2 separate regions of the Homo sapiens genome follow, and region 1 is linked to region 2. The links are contacts of gene promoters, found by promoter capture Hi-C in blood cells and fetal thymus (Javierre and others, 2016). All regions are on one chromosome and are shown on one strand. Each heading gives the region's core, a stretch centred on a gene start or on the middle of the fragment in contact. The rest is flanking DNA. Distances are from core to core; before and after follow the strand shown. Region 1 overlaps ZFAND3 (zinc finger AN1-type containing 3). Region 2 holds the start of BTBD9-AS1 (BTBD9 antisense RNA 1).

Region 1 (4,734 bases), core at 450-2,949, 340 kb after region 2:
AAATGCCACACATCTCTCTCCAGAGAAACACCTGGAAAAGAAAGGAACATTTTCCCCATCTTTCCCAACTGACCTTTCAATCAACACACTGGGATCACAGGGAGTATGAAGATGAGAAACTGGGGTAGGGAGAGACCTGTAACTTAGTTTCAACCCTGCTTCCACAGCAAGTCCCTTAACAGCTGAACTACACATTCTCTTTCAGGATAATACAGCATGGAGTGTGAGCTTTAGACCCAAGTACTGAATTCAGGTTCCTGCTGCCCTGTTTTGACAGTTATGTGGCTCAGGCCATTTAACCTTGAAGAACCTCCGCTGTGTCTGCTCTAAGATGGGGCTGTTACGGGCATAAATGAAAACCGTGCCTGTGAAGCACCCGGCATGTGCTCAAGGAAGGCTGGTTGGTCCTGGGATGATTCTTCGGGGTGGGGTCATCCCTTTTGCCATTTTGCCCTACACGGTGCAGCTGACATGCTTGGCATTATGACTCTGACCCCCTTCCCCCATCATGTCTGTTCCTTCCTCCTCCATTCACACAACATTTTTTCTGCCCCACTTGCTTTTACCTCCCCATCTAGATTCTGGTTCCATTCTCCTTTGAGAAGTCACTGCCGACAAAAGAGAACGAATGTGGAAATCTTCCTCTGAACATATGATGTACAAGTTTCCTCTCTCCCCCTCCACAAGCCTGTCTTTACAGACTATAAATGCATGCTAAGTGACAAGCTAAGTAAAAATTTCTGAAGATATGCAAATTTCAGAGAAATCTGAATTAAATATACAAAGACTATATAGTGCAGCCTGGAAAGTACTCAGTGGTTAGGGACACCATGAAAGGGACACGGAAACTTTCCAAGGACATCAGAGAGGAGCTCCTCTACAGGTACAGCTGAGTATTCTGCAAGCCTCTGTCACAAACAGAGGCAGAGCATGTGTTGCCAAGTTTGGTCACGTACTGATTGTTTGTTGAAAAGCCTCATGTCTATTTCCCCAAGACTGTCAGGCTGGGAGCTGTAGTGAAAGGAAGAGCAGGAGAAAGGAATGGGCTGTAGACATTCTGCAAACAATCTATGTTTTCACCCAAACTGTGCCAGCATCACATGCACTTGTTTTATGTGCTTGTTTTAAGAATGAAGTTTCTCTAAGGGCTTCTTGTTTTCACCACGATAACTCAAAAAGGTCATTCCGAGGAGCTTAGAAGTACAAGCATGCTTTTGCCCCGTTTCCACAAAATCTGAACTGCAAGGTCAGAAGTCCTACAATGTCTGCTGTCCACTGTTATAAGACTGTGTGGTGTGGGTGGGGGTGGGGGCGGGCAGAGAAGCTGGCTTCTTGATTCTCCATGTTTAAAGTTAGTTTATTTAAAAACACCTGCCCTGAAGGGGAAGAGGCTTATTCAGTATAGAAAAATATTTTCTGCAGACATGAGTTCAAATCTGAAGTCAGACTACACACTATAGTGAAAGCCCTACTGAATGGATAGCCCACTAAAGGACTCTACAAATCTCCTGTGTGGAAGGTATTAATAACCACATAGCCCAGTTCCATTTCACTTGGGGGTGTAGGAGAGGGGGCTCAGATATGATGACTTCACCTAATGGTTACAATTTGGGTATAAAAAAACACCCCATGAACAGCTGGGCATGGTGGCTCATGTCTGTAAGCCCAGCATTTTGTGGGGCTGAGGCAGGAGGATCACTTGCAACCAGGAGGTCAAGGCTGCAGTGAGCCATTATTGAGCCACTGCACTCTAGCCTGGGCAAAAGACCAAGACCCTGTCTCAAAACAAAACAAAACACCCTACGAATGGAGCCTGAAAATCACTAAATCTAATGACCCTTTTCAATTATCACTTAGAACCTCTAGAAAGCTGACTACTCCTGTGGGCTCTGTGACATCTGCTTACCTTGTTTTCCTTCTCTTTCTCTGATAGCTCTTCATCTGCTATCCTTGAAATATTAGCATTATTCAGTGCTGGACCTTCTTTTTGTCTTAATCCTACACTCTTCACACTCTTCTTCAAGGTTAAAATTCTAACTATGTATGCTAACAATTCTGAAATTTATCTCTCTGCCCCAGACCTCTCTTTGGAGCTCCATATCTGTGTATTCAATTATCTACTTGGCATCTCAGGTATTTCAGACTTGAGATGTCTAACATAGGACACTTGCTACTTCCTCACAAATCTGCTTCTTCTTCAATGTCTCCCATTCTAAGAGAATAGGGCCACCATGCAGCCAGTGGCTCATGACACAAACCTGGAGTCATCACTGATACCTTACTTACTCTTCACATTCAATTACCGAGTCTTGTGGATACGATTTCCAAAAATCAAATCCATTCACTTCTTGCCATCTCTACTGCCACCACCTAGTCAAAGCCGCCAGAATCTTTTTTTCCAGGGCTACTGCAATAGCCTCCTTTAGGTGGTCGCCCCATATCAAATCCACCTTCCTCAGAGCAGCCAGCGTCATAAGCCACCACCTAGTCAAAGAGACCAGTAACTTTTTTCCGAGGCTACTGCAACAGCTTCCTTTAGGTGGTCGCCCCACATCAAAGCCACCTTCCTCAGGGCAGCCAACATGATGAGATGATGAGATCCAGCCCTGTCTGTGATTACCGTGCTCCACTGATTACAATAAAAATTTCCCCACTGAAGCACGATCTCAACCCTGGCTGCCGCTTCCCCTTGTGCCATTTACTCCCTTGCATTCTATGTCCCAGACACACTGACTTCCAAAGGAAATTCTTGCTTACTCAGGCCTTAGCTTCAATGACTTCCTCAGGAAGATCTTCCTGGACCCTCAGACTAGGTTAGGGCCCAGTTGGATGCTTTCAAGGCATCTTGAACTTTTCCTTCAATCACTAGTCACAATTTTAATTTAGCGTCATTTGTGGAATTTGTTCATTTAATTTGTCTCCTTGGCTAGATTTCATAAAATCAAGCACCATGCTTCTGTAATTTATCACATATCCTCTATCCCTAAAATACTGCTTGGTTCACTCAAAATATTTTGGTCAGGTAAATGAATGATAGGTTAGGTATAGAAAGACTGTGTTCTCTGAACCCTAGGGAGCAAGCAAAGGCCAATCAGGTATTCAAGGGGCGAAATCCAATATCCTCACCTCAACCTCTACAGCATTTGTCCACTTTTCTGTTTCTTAAAATACTTTTATTTTTCATCTTCTGTGATGTCACACTCCTTTCTTCCCACCTGACCAACTGCTGCTCCTTGGAATCCTTCATGGTTTCTCCTCTAAAATCACCCAGCATCACGTCCTCCTGCATTTTCTCCTTTAGGTAATTTCATCCAGATCCAAATAGGGTATCCATGCTGATGCCTCTTGAACTTATATTTCCATCTATGAATTCCCCTCAAATCCAAATCCCGATATCCAATGGCCTACTTGACAAACACGTCTGACTAGAATAATGCTAGGAATCTCAACTGTACCATGTTTGAAACAACTCTTCATCTTCTTGACCTCTGTTAGTTTATCTCCTCATCTTCTCTGCCTCAGTGTGAGTGGCAATATATCCACCCAGCTGCTGTTCAAGTCAAACTGTGGGCTCAATTCTTGATTCCTCTCTTTTCCTTACTCCTCACACTGACTTTATTAGAGGTCTAGTTAGATCTAAATGATGTCCTGAATCGGCTCTGCACCTCTTCTCATGCAAATGTCCTGTGGCAGGAATAAGCTCAGCATACTGATGGAAGAGAAAGGCAGCCAGCAGGGCTGGAATGCGGTGAGGCCGATGGCTCCACCAGGCTGCTAGAGCTCAGGCGTGTTGCCTGCTTCTGCCTTTGCTGCCCTCCAAGCCGTCCCCCTCCCAGCAGTTGGAGGGAACTTCTGGATTTAAAAAAAAAAAATTGACCTGAGATGTACTTGTTTTGTATTTGTTCATTCTTACTTTGCCTATTTAAAGGTAGTACATGAATATAATAAAAATTCAAATTGTATAAAATGATATTTAGCAGAAAGTAAGTCTCCCATCTCATTCTGTTACCCTCTCCAGAAGCCCAGCAACCACCACCACTGTCTATTTTTATGTATTCTTGAGAGTCCATGCATCTGTGCATACACAAGCATGTGTTTCTCTCCCAGAGAAATATATTTTTCTTTTTTTTTTCTTTCTTTAATAGAGACAAGGTCTCACTATGTTGCCCAGGTTGGTCTCCAACTCCTGAGCTCAACTGATACTCCCACCTCCGCGTCCCCAGTGCTAAGATTACAGCTGTGAGTTACCGTGCCTGGCTCTCCAGGGGAATATTTTTAAAATTTAAGTCAGATCACTCCTTTGCTTAAAACCATTCAATGCCTTCTCACTATGTTTACAATAATCAGATTCTTTGCAAAGACATGCAAGCCCCCGACTGATCCCTGCTGCGTCTCCACTCTCCTCCCGCAACGCACTGTGCTCTGGCCGGGCTGGCCAGCTTTCTCTTCCTCAGATACACCAAGTTTGTTCCTCCCTCCAGGGCCTTTGTTCTGTCTAGGGCACTGCTCTCCCAACTCTCTGAATGGCTGGCTCTCCCAGCTTTTATGTTCAGCTCAGCTTTCATGTCCTCCCAGGTGCTGGCCTCCCCCTTCCCTATTTGCAGCTCCCCCTTTCCCTTATCACACTGTCATTTTATTACATCATATCTCCTGCTCCCATCAGAAATTACCTTGTTTATCTGTTCCCTTGCTTACTGCATCTCTCCCCTAAAGAATAAAAGCACCAAGAGGTCA
Region 2 (5,156 bases), core at 2,260-4,759:
AGATTCTAGAACAAAAGATTTAGGCTGTCACACAAACTTAGTTGATAAAGCAGTAGTAGGGTTTGAGAGGATTGACCTCAATTTTGAAAGAAGGTCTACTATTGGTAAAAATGCTGTCAAACAGCATCGTATGCTACAGATAAATCTTTCATGAAAGAAGAGTCAATAGATGCAGCAGACTTCATCATTGTCTTACTTTAAGAAATTGTCACAGCCACCCCAGCCTTCAGCAACCACCACCCTGATCAGTCAGCAGCTATCAACATTGAGGCGTGATCCTCCACCAGCAAAAAGGTTATGACTCACTTGAGACTCAGATGATTGTTAACATTTTTTAGCAATAAAGTATGTTTTAATTAATAATCTGTACTTTTTTTGGACATAATGCTGTTGCACACTTAATAGGCTACCATACAGTGTAAACGTAATTTTTATATGCACTGAGAAACCAAAAGATTTGTGTGGCTTGCTTTATTGTGTGGTCATAAACTGAACCCATGACATCTCCCAGCTATCCCTGTACCTGTCTCATAGGGTTGCTACAAATGTCAAAGGAGATCAGGCTTGTAAAACAGCCTTAGCAGAGGTCTTGGTACAAAGGAAGCACTCAGTTGATAAAGGATTACTGTTATCTCTTTTTGTTTTAAAAAGATATCCAGTATTCTTCTTCAGGAACTGATTATAATCTCAAATAGTAGTCAGTCCCAGGAAGTGTTTTTATAAATCTAACCCACATTTTATCTACTCTAGAACTTTTGCCCATCTGCTGAACCTTTAATCCATTTCTTTTTATTTAATCCTCATTAGACATTTAAAAAACAACTAATGATTACCCCTGAAGAATAAAAATATAACACTTCCTTAGTAATTCTAGTTCTAGTTTCATAGGTCTGATTTCCCTGTGCACTAGTTATTATGTCTCACCTTTATGCTTCTGTGCATGTCTACAGTTGAAGAGCAAAGAGCTGAACACAGGATTCTAAACAAGGATTTCATCGTCATTTCATTTATCCATTGAGTAAAATGTTTACGGAGCACCCACAATATACTAAACACTGTGCCTGGAAGTAGACATATAGCAGTAAACGAGATTAAGTTGTTGCTTAACGCAGTTTACATTGTAGTAGGAGAGAGAGAAAAATGAGATGTAAAGAAATAAATGTGATACTGACTAGTCATAGTTTGACAAAATTGGAATGGGGGAATAAGCTAGCCAGTGGTTGAGTTTGGGGAAGGAGCACTTGAGCAGAACGGTCAGGGAAGGCCTTTCTGAGGAAGTGAGTTGAGCCAAAACTTGAATTACAAGAAGTTGGCTTGGCTATGCAGCAATCTAAGGGAGAAGTGTTCCAGGCTAGGGAACAGCAAGAGTAAAGGCTGTGAAGTAGAAACTAGCTTGGGGTTTTTGAGGAACAGAAAGAAGGCCATGTGTTTCTGAAATCTGGTGGGTAGATAGTCTGTAGGGTGTTGGGAGGAAGGTATGTTTAGCAATGAGGGCAGACAGATAGACAGGAGCCATGTCCTACAGGGACTTGATAGTGTCGAATTCTAAGGATGATGGGAAACCATAGAAGGGTTTAAACCAGGTGATGGTAGTTGAGATTTTTGAAAGATAACTCTAGTGTGATCTAGTGTGAGAATGGACTATAGGGAAGACCAGACAGCAGGTGGGCAAGGAAAAGTGAATACAAGAGACTGGGAAGGAGCTGCCAGTGAGGCAGGAAGAAAACAAGGACAACATTTTCATGGAAGTCTTAAAAAGTCAGTCTTTCGGTATGAGGAGGGGAGATGGGAGAGGGCAGTAGGTAACAGAAAATCGACTCCTGGTTGTAGCAAGATAGAGCTTAGTGGCGTCCTTTAAGAGCCATTTCAGTGGAGTCAAGGGAGAAGGGAATAGAGGCTGAGGGAATAGGGGTAGCAATACATGTAGAAGATAAAGTATCACTGGGAGGGGAAGCAGAGAAATGATGAAGAGGATGGAGGGGGACCTAGGGTCAAGGGAGGATGATGTTAAGGTATGTGTGTGTGTGGACTGGAATGATACCACAGGGAGGGAGGATTTGATAATGCAGGAGAGTGGATCTTTGTAGGGGCCGTGTACCTCATTATGGGAGAGGGGCTGGATCTCTAGCTCAAGGAGAAGATTGACTTTAGGTAGAATTGAGGTTCCTTCTTTTCCTGTAACAGGAGGAAAGGCAGAGTATGTAGAATAGATGTACCCAGATTGAAAGAGGCAAAAATGGAAGCCTTACCTTCATGTTGACAGTGCTTGTGCCTTGGTGGGTCTTTGTGGTATATCATGGCCTCAAGCTCTGTTTTTGCAGGTCCACTGAGTTATTTGTGCTATATATATTCTTTTCCTACCCAGGCCATCTATCTCAGATACAGATCTGTTTACATGTCTGTCTCCCCCACTAAACTGGCATCTCTTCAACAAGAGTAGTTATCTTTGTATCTCCAGACATAGCTCAGTGTTTGGCAAGAACTGAGTTGAAGGAATGACAGCTACATCAGTAGAAAGGACTCATATAACAGCTACACAAACATGCGGTAGAAAGGAAAGTAATTCAAGAGCATGAATAAAATTAAGTGTTTATATCTTAGAATAATTAATATGATTTCTCTCTTTTAAGTGGAATACATTGTTACTGAACACCAGAATTGAGGGGTAGCTAAAAGTAAAAAAAAAAAAAAAAGAAAGAGAAAGGATCACCTCACACCTCACTACCATCTGGAAAGAAGATGAGCTTTTAACAGCCCCTTTCAGTAGGGACGAGTTAGTGCCTGGCATGCTTTGGTGGGAAGCACATTTCTAGGTTCAGGAGAAAGTGAGAATCAAACGTGTCTGGGAAAAGGAGATCCCAGTGTGATCAGCTTGCTTGTGGAAGATTAGCAGGGGTTGGGGGCGTAGAGGGCTTCGGGCAAGAGTAAATGTTAATGAGAGATGGCTTAAGCAGACTTGTGCCCAAACGAGTGAGAACAATTTGACAGGAAGTTCAGTTGAGCATGTGTAGCACTTCTCCAAATGCTTTCTTCTTGGACTGGGAAGAAACACAACAAAACAAAATAGTTACTTTCCCCTTCAACATTATACAGCACATCCTAAATGAAACATGACTTTCTGAGTTACAAGCTGCCCCTGGCAAAAAGGCTGGTTATAATCTCAGTGTGTTCCCTGAAACTAATGTTCCTTGGGCACTCCAGATTTGTGTGACGTACTGTAAGTTATATCCAACTGAACTGTTCTTTTAACTGCCTGCATTAAGCATCATCAAATAAGTTGCGCTGAAAGGAACCACCTGAATAAAGAAGCTTTTATACCTTTGTAAGTCCTCACTGCATGACCCTAGGTCACTGCTGTTGAACTTGGGAGCTTTCTCTCCCACTTTTCACTCTCTTGCCTTTAATGGATGGGGGTCTCCACACCAGGTTTTCTTTCTCTCTCATCTGCCAGGTGCTAGCAAATGGTGCTGCCAGCCTCATTAGGGGAGAGGGGGTAGTGTGGAGGCAGGCACTGGCCCCTCCCTCATGTGCCCCGCTTCCCAGAGGCCTATGGGATACCAACTGAAAAGAGGTCGTGAGCAGAGCTGCTCACCCTGGAATTCATTTTCTCTAGACTCATTAAAATGCTGCCTTCCTATCTCCCTTGGATTTTTACTTTTCAAAACACTTTACGATGTGCGGCCTCATTTTATTTTACATTAAGCTGACAACCTAACATCTCACCAAGTATCAACTGGGAATACAATTTTGCACTCACTGTGCTGTGCCATCTTGCCAAGTTTTGTCTTTGTTACTCAGCTCTCATTCAGAAAGGAATTAATTTGAATTATATGATGCTATGGTTGTCTCCTTGAAGAAGGGCTAGATTCCTGCACACCTTGGGAAAGTATCTATCTGTGAATGTACTTGAATCTTCCAGGTTATATGCCATTCTTCTCTCTTCTTTCCCTTTCACATCATCATGGGCTCCTCTCACGTTAGAATAAACCTTTCTGTTTTGCCTCTCCCTACTCAATGGGATTTCCATTGTTTCTGTCTTCACTTCCTTTTACCTGGGAGAAGCTGATACTGATGGAAAGGCATTTTTGAGTCTAGATATAAAGCTCTTTGTTTAAAGAGCATTTTTAAAAGAAGGGAATTTTTACATTGCCAAAGGTACCCAGGTGTTGCCTTCCTTCCCCATGAGGATTTTGCACAGAGCGCACATTCATACCCACTATCTCTTAGTGTCAGCCTGTGTGATGGCTATATGCTGTCTACCAACACTACAGTCTGTTTGGGAAGCGCCAAATCTTGGGTAGGCACTGGATCTAAAACTGGCACTGGAATCATCCACTCAGAGGAAGAAAGATTGAGGTCAGGTGGGGAATAAGACAGGCAAGTTGTCAGGCTTCTTTTCAGATGGTTCTCAGAGTACACTTCCATTACTTAGAACAGTGGGTTTGGTGGGGGGTTTTGGCGTGTTCTATAGCTGAGCTACAAGCAAAATTAGAGCTTTTTACTTATATACTACTTTGCATGGAGGTAGTCTCAGGGTCCCAGTTACAGCACTGATTTCTTGAAAAGAGTTTGATGTTCTGGCCCATGCTTAATTTAAATGAGAGGCTAAAAGCAGATTGTGTAACCCACCAATGCCCATTTGACAGGACTTGCACCAATCTGACCTACACTTTCATAAGAGCTCCTAAGCAGAGTGCTGTACTGTGGGTCTTCTGCCTTAACTCCAGGAATGGCAGAGATGAGCTACTGTTTATTGAGCACCGACAAAGGAGAGGTACTCTGAGTGTTGAATGCATGCTGTCTCTCAGCCCACAAGAGCCCTGCAAAGGAAGTGCATTGCTCCCCGTATTTATGGATGAGGAAGCTGAGTATCAAGAAGCTTGCTCAGAATCATGCAGCTAGCAAGGAGCAAGGCAGGGTTTCAGAGCTACGTTTATCTGTTTCCAAAGAGTACACTCTCCCCTCAATTCCCAGTAGTACTTCTCCAGTAAATCTTAAGTATTGTATTGCTTTTTTCCCTTCTATTTCTCTTAGCAGTCTATAGAAAAGAGCGTTTATTTAAAGATTTTAGTGCTCATCTGGGCATAGTGACTCATGCCTGTAATCTCCACACCTTGGGAGGCCGAGGCAGGAGGATCGCTTGAGCCCAGGAGTTC

What was found. Contacts are between HindIII fragments. The CHiCAGO score rates a contact against its expected background, and 5 or more counts as called.
Region 1: a fragment that was not itself captured here is called in contact with the fragment with the promoter of BTBD9-AS1 in region 2 in 1 of 17 cell types (M2 macrophages); the score reaches 6.5 in M2 macrophages.

The regions. Positions count from the first base shown.
Region 1 is chr6:38,137,556-38,142,289 of GRCh38, reverse strand. All of the region lies in intron 5 of ZFAND3 (zinc finger AN1-type containing 3), which reads right to left. It overlaps LOC124901314 (a long non-coding RNA gene), which reads right to left. Exons shown (of 2, transcript XR_007059570.1): 1 at 4,671-4,734; 2 at 1-3,852. Among named protein-coding and RNA genes, the nearest start is that of ZFAND3, 320 kb to the right of the region's middle. RefSeq lists an enhancer at 3,279-4,123. The HindIII fragment of the contact is 6,946 bases long and covers 1-4,734 here.
Region 2 is chr6:38,479,949-38,485,104 of GRCh38, reverse strand. BTBD9-AS1 (BTBD9 antisense RNA 1) reads right to left here and starts at 3,509. Exons shown (of 2, transcript NR_144472.1): 1 at 3,319-3,509; 2 at 2,578-3,038. The region is part of intron 6 of BTBD9 (BTB domain containing 9); the gene reads left to right. The HindIII fragment of the contact is 1,570 bases long and covers 3,312-4,881 here.